Linked DNA regions of Homo sapiens: all the other regions are linked to region 3. Evidence: promoter capture Hi-C in 16 types of primary human blood cells and fetal thymus (Javierre and others, 2016). All regions are on one chromosome and are shown on one strand. Each heading gives the region's core, a stretch centred on a gene start or on the middle of the fragment in contact. The rest is flanking DNA. Distances are from core to core; before and after follow the strand shown. Region 1 has its middle 180 kb from the start of LINC01195. Region 2 has its middle 200 kb from the start of LINC01195. Region 3 holds the start of GRIN2A (glutamate ionotropic receptor NMDA type subunit 2A).

Evidence for each region. Contacts are between HindIII fragments. The CHiCAGO score rates a contact against its expected background, and 5 or more counts as called.
Region 1: a fragment that was not itself captured here is called in contact with the fragment with the promoter of GRIN2A in region 3 in 2 of 17 cell types (endothelial precursors and M1 macrophages); the score reaches 5.7 in endothelial precursors.
Region 2: a fragment that was not itself captured here is called in contact with the fragment with the promoter of GRIN2A in region 3 in 1 of 17 cell types (endothelial precursors); the score reaches 5.2 in endothelial precursors.

What each region holds. Positions count from the first base shown.
Region 1 is chr16:9,636,805-9,639,504 of GRCh38, forward strand. No RefSeq gene overlaps it. Among named protein-coding and RNA genes, the nearest start is that of LINC01195, 180 kb to the left of the region's middle. The HindIII fragment of the contact is 3,105 bases long and covers 1-2,700 here.
Region 2 is chr16:9,653,282-9,655,981 of GRCh38, forward strand. No RefSeq gene overlaps it. Among named protein-coding and RNA genes, the nearest start is that of LINC01195, 200 kb to the left of the region's middle. The HindIII fragment of the contact is 315 bases long and covers 1,259-1,573 here.
Region 3 is chr16:10,181,115-10,183,814 of GRCh38, forward strand. GRIN2A (glutamate ionotropic receptor NMDA type subunit 2A) reads right to left here and starts at 1,314. Exons shown (of 13, transcript NM_001134407.3): 1 at 763-1,314. RefSeq lists silencers at 402-511, 522-581. The HindIII fragment of the contact is 14,826 bases long and covers 1-2,700 here.

The DNA of each region.
Region 1 (2,700 bases), core at 185-2,684, 540 kb before region 3:
GATGGTGTTAAACCATTCATGAGAAATACACACTCTCACAATCCAATCACCTCTGACCGGGCCCCACATTCAACACTGGGGATTACGATTTAACATGAGATTTGGTGGGGACACAGATTCAAACCATATTAGTCCTCATCTCTCAAATAGAGACGATGACACCTACCTCGGTGCAGGGGAAGCCCTTAGGACAGAGTAGGGGTTTGATTAATAAAAATATTCTTTCTGGTACCAGCTCAATGACCTGCCATTAATCCAGTTTCTGTTCTGGAGGCGGATGAGGGGAGGAGAGATGACTCCCTCAGCCACTGGTCTGGTCTGGAATCTCTCTCTTCAAAGCATTGTCCCCATCCCACCAGCATCATTTGTGAGCTTTTTGGAAATGCAGAATCTCGGACCCCACGCCAGATCTATACTGAGTCAGAAGCTCAGGTCCTTAGGTGATTCACACACAGGTTAAAATTGAGAAGCAGGCCAGGCGCGGTGGCTCACGCCCGTAATCCCAACACTTTGGGAAGCCGAGGTGGGTGGATCACGAGGTCAGGAGTTCGAGACAAGCCTGGCCAATATGGTGAAACCCCATCTCTACTAAAAATACTAAAATTAGCCAGGTATGGTGGCGCATGCCTGTAATCCCAGCTACTTGGGAGGCTGAGGCAGGAGAATCGCTTGAATCCGGGAGGCAGAGGTTGCAGTGAGCCGAGGTCACGCCACTGCACTCCAGCCTGGGTGACAGAGCAAGACGCTGTCTCAAAAAATAAATAAATAAAAATAAATATAAAATTGAGATGTACCAGTATAAATATGGAGTGACTCAATTGTCCCCTTCTGCCACCTGCCTCCCCAGCGCAGACAGTATCTCTGGAACTAAATAATCTGCCCTGACCCTTTTGCCATGCTTCTCAAGTCTATATAATCCTTCCTAATGTCATTTTCACCAGTAGACAAGAGGGGGAAACATTTTCTTAGAAAGACAAGTTTTAGTCTTGACATTTAACCTCTGTAGTTTGTAACCTGTCAGTCAGGAGAACACTGAAGGTCATCTACCTGATCTTCATGCAGTTCAGGCTTCCCTGACTGCTCTTAAGAAGGTCATCAGGTCCAGCTCTGACTCTATGCAGCAGAGAAGCAAAACCATTGTGATGGGTCATTAACAAGAATCAGGCAGACAGTGTGGGTGGAAAATCATGGTCCAGAATGTCAAATGTCTCTTAGGCCTACCAGGAGAGATGCTCAATTAATTCTGTGCTTTAGCACCCCCCTGAAAAGTTCTGCACATAAGAGCAACTCACTTTATCGGCTCTTGGAGCTCACCTCTTTGTTACTGGCTTTAGCCTCAGCACCCTAAAATCTGAGGCCACTCCATCCAAACAAACCAAGAACATCCCGCTCTGGGTCAAAGGCTTTCAGCTGTGTTCATGCATTTGGAAGAAGGAGAACTTCTAGCCCCTGTAAAAAGAGTCTGCATCATTTTACACCGTGGCTTCCATCCCACTATTCACCAGGGCTGCTCAGCGTTCTCAAACACAGTTAATACCACAAAGTCCATTAGTATCTCAGCCTGCTACCTTCTGCTTCCCAGACTGTGGTCTGCAATCCCGACCTAGCCTCAGTGACAGCAGCCGCTGATGGAGCCCTTTAGGAGACAGTAACACCATTTCGTGTTCCTGTCCATGGGATTCTTATCAGTCTGGATGAATGGCTGAACAATTTTCTAGGCTCTTCGGTCTATTGCTCAGACACCTGGGAGTCCCATCCCCATGTCTTTTGCAATGCCTCATTTCTGGTAATTTATAACACATTCACTGTTAAATATCCGTCACAGAATGTCAGCCAGGCCTGTGCCTGGGATCTGTGTAACAGTGTTTCATTCTGTCCACCTTTTTAGGCACAGAAATAGCCCTGCTGACCCAGAAGAAGCAGTCATATGGTTTGCATCTGGTTCTTGGGAGATGCTGGTATCAGAGAATGATGCTCCAATAACCACCATCGACTAGTTATATATCACAACTTTCTTTTTTTTTTTTTTTTTTCCGAGATGGAATCTTGCTCTGTCACCCAGGCTGGAGTGCAGTGGTGTGATCTCAGCTCACTGCAACCTCCATCTCCCGGGTTCAAGCAATTCTCCTGCACCAGCCTCCTGAGCAGCAGGGATTACAGGCACATGCCACCATGCCCAGCTAATTTTTGTATGTTTAGTAGAGATGGCGTTTCACCATGTTGGCCAGGCTGGTCTTGAACTCTTGGCCTCAAATGATCTGTCTGCCTCAGCCTTTCAAAGTGCTGGGATTACAGGTGTGAGCCACTGCACTCGGCCTCATATATCACAAATTTTGATATGATGTATTTTCATTTTATTCAGTGTAATGTTTTAAAATGTTCCTTGACACTTTCTATTTGAACTTTGAATTACTTAGAAATGGGTTGCTTACTTTTCAATTGTTTGGAGATTTTCCTGTTATTGATTTCTAGTTTGATTTCATTGTGATTGAAAAACACAACTGTAAGAATTAATTCTTGTTCAGTTACTTGAGGGGTTGTTTTAGAACCCAAGACATGGTCTTCTTAGAATATGTTCCATAGCACTGGAAAAAATGTGTATTCTGTTGTTGGTGGTGGAACTTTCTATTAATGGTGATTAGATCTGATGGGTTGAGGGTGTTGTTGTGTTCCTCTATATCTTTGCACAGCTTCTTTCTA
Region 2 (2,700 bases), core at 166-2,665, 530 kb before region 3:
TCTACGAAATGTTTACTAACTAGAGTACTCCTATTTGACAGCTTTGTTTACCATGCTTGGATTCACAAGCCCCTAATTTGTTCTCCTTGCAGAAACCAAGTGCTGCCTTTCATTTATTTTCTCACCCTCAATTTAGAATTCGAGATGGTCAGCTCCTTCTGCAGGGCTAACTGTGGCTCTTCCGTGCTTTGTTTATCCAATGAATATTGATTTAGTGCCTCCTCCTAGTGCAGGGGACCTAGTAGTGAACTAAAGAAAGTCTCTGTCCTCTTGCAGCTTACATTCTAGTGACAGAGAAAATGAAATAAGGTCAGGTAGTGTAAAATGTTTGAAGGATATACAAAGCAAAATTAATTAATAATTGTTGGACATCTATTAGGCATCAGGGCTGTGGAGTCTGGGGACGCAGCTGCACACACAGAAATGGCATTGCAAGCTGGACTAATGCTGTAATGCAAAGTAATGAGTAATCTCTGGAAGAGCAAAGCTATCACAGAACTAAGCATGCTGATTAATGCTAGAAAGGACATGCTGATCAATGCTAGTATGGGTATGCTGGTCAATGTTGGTATGGGCATGCTGATCAATGACAGTATGGGCATGCTGATCAAAGCTAATATAAGTATGCTGATCAATGCTAGCATGGGCATGCTGATCAATGCTAGTATGGGGGTTCTTATCAATGCTAGTATAAGCCTGCCGATCAATGCTAGTACGGACGTGCTTACCAATACTAGTATGGGTGTGCTGATCAATGCTAGTATAAACCTGCTGATGAACGCTAGTATGAGCATGCTAAACAATGCTAATATGGGCATGCCAGTCAATGCTAGCATAGGTGTGCTGATCAATAAGCAAAGAGAACACATGCTGAAGTCAAGGGCTTTAACAATAACTTTTGTAAATACTACCCTTTAATGCCCTGTTAAGTTTACTACCTTCATCCTAACCCAAGACGTAAATTTTCAAGGAGAAGGAGAAGGAGAGGAAGGAAGGAGAAGAGGAGGCAGAGGAGAAGGAGGCAGTTGGAATAAATATACAGGAACAGAACTTACTTTGATCTTTCTAAAAGGTTAACGTTGGATTTTAATTTCTACTCTAAGCAGGAAATAGAAGTAGAGTTTGCCTAAAATAATTTGAGAATATTTCATCTTCATTTAATCAGGAAATTCCTCCAGAACTGTCTTCACCTAAAAGTTTGGTTAAGTATAAGTAAAAAGAAAAGCATGCAGATTCCAACAGGGAAGAGGAAATCCAAAGCTTGGGCCTGGAGGGGGCTTCTCAATTTTCTTGGAAGACTCCCCAGTGATCACCTGTACCTCCTCCCTCCAGGAAGCTCTGCCGTAACAATAATTGTCCTCTCTTAGCCAGGTGGAGGGACAAAGGGGCTTTAGCAAAACATCACCTCCGAGGGTGGTCAGTCCTGTTGGACATTTTAATCAGCACATGGGAAAGCAGCTCCAATATTTCCCTGCCCTGGTACTGATAGCTGAAGCATCCTTCCCCCCAACCCTCTTTCTACCCCCTGGCAACTACAAATTGCTCCTGCCCCAGGAGACAGTGAGCTGTGGAAAGCTTCAAAGTCAGAAAAATGTGGGCTTGGTCACCTCCTCTGTCAATTGCCAGTGGTGTGTCTTTGGGCAGTAAGCTGAACTTCTCTGATGTTGTTTCCCCTTCTATAGTCTGCCTATAGGGATTAAACACCAGCATGGATGTCAATCATCTGGCCCATACTAAGTGTTCAATGAATGATCTCCAGGGCCTTTTTTACTTACCTCAGATAATAAAAGCCCACTTAAAGCCTGTGGGTCCTGAAAGCCGAGAGGAATTCACAGCTTGGCCAACGATGGAAAGATAATCAGAATGGAAAGAAGAGAGATGTATAATTGGGAAATTTCAGTCCCCCTCTGTTTCTCTGGCTGTCTGTGTCCATTCACAAAAGCCATTTTAGCCCGTATTCACTTATGCGCATATGTAAAATGAGGACTTGAACAAGTCTCTTCTTCCCTGAGCCAGCCATCTGAAGCTCACTGGTGCCATAGGGCTAACCTTGAAGTTCGATTAAAACAGTGACCTTCAGAGCAGTACTTCTCAGCTTGCAGGGGAGATTTTTCACATGTATCATTTCATTTGATGATCACATTTTTTTTCTGAATTTTTATTTTCCAGATGATCCAGAACTGAGATCCAGAGCCACAAAGGGCTTGTGCCAGACCTAAGTGAGATGCAGAGTCGGCCTTAAACCCAATTCTCATGATCAGTGGTGATTGTGGTGATGATGATGATGATGGTGATTCTGGGGATGATGATGATAATGGATTTTTCTTCACAGTGTCTAGCAGTATTCCTGGCACATAATATGCATGGACCTATGCTGGAACTAAATGATTTAATATCCATAAAGGGTCCTATGAGGCAAGCTCCAGAGACACAGAGGAAGGCCATACAGCAATAGCATGAAACACAGCTTTGAGGTCCTGGGGCCAGGGAAGGGCACAAGGTGTGGCTGAGGGGATGCTCATGTGTGCTTCCCTGCTCTTTCCTCAGGAAGGTTTCCCTGTTTGGAGCAGCCGCCACATGCCATGGCTTCTTTCTCTGCCTTTTGCTTTGATTAATTGCACCTTTCATGATTCATATCGCATAATTGCCTTCCAAATGGGTTATTCCTGGGTGGTAACCTTATGGGGGTAGGTTTGTGGG
Region 3 (2,700 bases), core at 64-2,563:
TGGGGAACTTGGGGCTCGCCCCACCTCGAGCCAAGGGGCCGTGGAGAGTCCTTCACCCCTACACGCGCGCGTGCACACACACGTGCACACACACACGCACACACACATGTTCACACACACACACCCTCTCTCACGCGCGCCGTGTGCAATGCTGAATTCTGGAGAGTAGGCGCGTCCCCCCGCGGGCCAGCGCGTAGGAGCTGGCAAAGAACGTGCGTAGGGGGAAAGGTAGGCTCCCAAGAAGCTCCCAGACGGACGTGGACTGTACAGCCCCTCCCTAGCCTTTCTACTGCGGGCGCTGTTGCCAAGTCCTAGGTGCACGTGGGCAGTGGGCCGCACACGCTCATAGGCACGCGCGCTTTTCTGCGCACTTCCTCAGACTGCTGTAGCGGTGCCCACGGCCAGCCGGAGTCCTCACATGTCCTCAGGTGGTGCACACGCATGAACTGCGGCAGGTGCACAGCCCTGCGTACCTGCAAATACCAGCACGGTCGTGCACGCGTGCCCTGACGCGCGCCTCTCGGGACGGACGCTGCTGGAGCCGGGGGAAGTTGAGGCGAACTCCAAGAGGCCTCGACGTTCCTGGGTAAGCGCCGCGGAGCGCGGAGCCGCAGCGCCCCCTGGTGCCCCTCCTGCACTTCGCCGCTGGGCTCCCTCCCGCTTTCCCTCTCCCTCTCTAGCCTGATCCCTCTCCCGCTCTCCCTCCGGTCGAGTCTCCCTCCTCCCCGGCCCAAGGAGCCCTGATCTCCCTCTGGGACGTACCTGTAGCCCGAGAAGGTCGAGGATGCAGTGGGGCGCGCTGCGCGCACGAGCATCTCGGCCGCCTCAGCAGCCACCGGGTTTAGCGGGTTCCCGCATGCTGCGGCCCCAGCGCGCTCCCCTGGCTGTCCCGCGCTGTCCGCATCGCCCCCACGGGGGGCGGCTATCCCAGCCGGAGGCTCTGCAGCAGGGCTCTAACGGGGCGGAGGAGAGAAGGAGAGGCAGGGTCAGCCCACCAACGAGGGGAGGGAGGGTTGAGGGGAAGGCTGCAGTCTGCAGTGCTCACAAGCCCCCCTATGCGCCCAGGGGGGCTAGACAAGAGGGGGGAAGCTGAAGCCCGATGCCCACGACGCCCCCAGTGCGGATCCTCAGCCCCTGTGGCTGATAGCGGGAGCTCCACTCCAGGGTGCACAGGAGAATGGGAGCCCCAGGTTGGCCACCCACGAGAAGCTAACTGGGCACCTCCACCCGCACCCCCTACCACCTCCCCAGCGCCGGCTGCTGGGAGTTGTGCGACCGGGAGCTGCTGAGCGAGGGAGGTAGGGAGAGAAAGAGGAGGTAACGAGGGTGGGGGGGCGCTGGCTGAGTTTGTGACGAGCCAGCAGTAGGAGAGGGGGAGGGAAGGACGCGGGCTCCCGCGGTCCCGGTTCCCCGAGGGAGGTGGATCTTTCCCACGCAGCGACCCTCTTGTGATCCTGCCGCTTCCTCCCTCTTCAGGCCTCCCACCTCCCCCCTTCCCAAGGGGGCCTCCCAGGCCCGGCGTCCCGCGCTAGCACTCACCGCAGCCTCTCTCCACATAGTTCTCAGCAGTGGCCGCTCCTGGTCATCTCCAGGGCTGATGGCTGCGGCCGCGATTCTCAGCGCTCACCCGGTCCCATGATCCGGCCAAGCCCTAGGAGCTCCCCTCCAAGATCCCTAGCTCCGCTTCCTGCCCCACTCCGGACGGCAACTGCCCGGTCCTCTGAGCGCGCCGGAGCACCCTCTCCGCAACCCAGCTCCGGGCTGGTGTGTTTGAGGGCGAGTGTGTGTGTGAGTGTGGGAGCGCGCTCGCGTGTGGCCGGGGATCCCCGCGGTCCCCGGCCGAGAGAGGCGCGGGCGGGGAAAGGCAGCTCCCTCCGGGCCCTTCGCTGCTGGGCCAGCTCCGCGCCGGGCGTTCGGCTCCCCACTTCCCAGCGGGAGTCCGGTGAGCGCCTGGACACCCTGGTTCACAGCACTGGCAAAGCCGGGTTCCCGGGGCGTCTTTCTGCTGCGGTCGCCTCCGAGGAAGAGGAGAAGGAAGGTAGCGGCGCCCTCCACACCAACTTAGGGACTTGTTCTCAGCCGGCGAGACGCAGTAGCCCCCGCTCAAGCCCAAGAGGCTTCGAGCTCCGGCGGGCGAAAGCGTCTCCTGCCCGCAGCCTCTCTCCTAGGTGGGTCGAGACAGACCCCGCAGTCCCTCGGCGGCGACGCGGAGCGCGGCCACCCGTTCCGAGAGCGCACGGCGGCAAATAAGGCCAGGATAGGTGGCTGGCTGGCGACGGGGGCGCCTGCGGCGGCGCGCGCTGCTGTCCGTGGTGTTGGAACCACGCTCTCCGCCCGCTCCCGGGCGTCTGGTGCGGCTGAAGAATCAATTATTCAGATCTCTGCTACCGCTTCCTCCTCCCCCAGTGCCTCGCGCTGGGTACAGTTATCCCCCTCCACGCACAGGCGCGCCGACACACACACACACACACACACACACACACACACACACACAGAGTCTGCTCCAATGCTTCTCCCTGTGCCTCGCCACCCCCGTACGGGAACCCACTCCTCTGATCTCAGGGAGCCAGAATCCTAAAAGCAAAGACATCTGCATTTCCCACATGCTTCCTTCTAAGTTCTACCAAACAGAAGCCTCCCTGAGGCTGCCACTTCTAAGCTACCAGAAGAGGTGAGCCAGAGAACATGGGACGGCCCGGG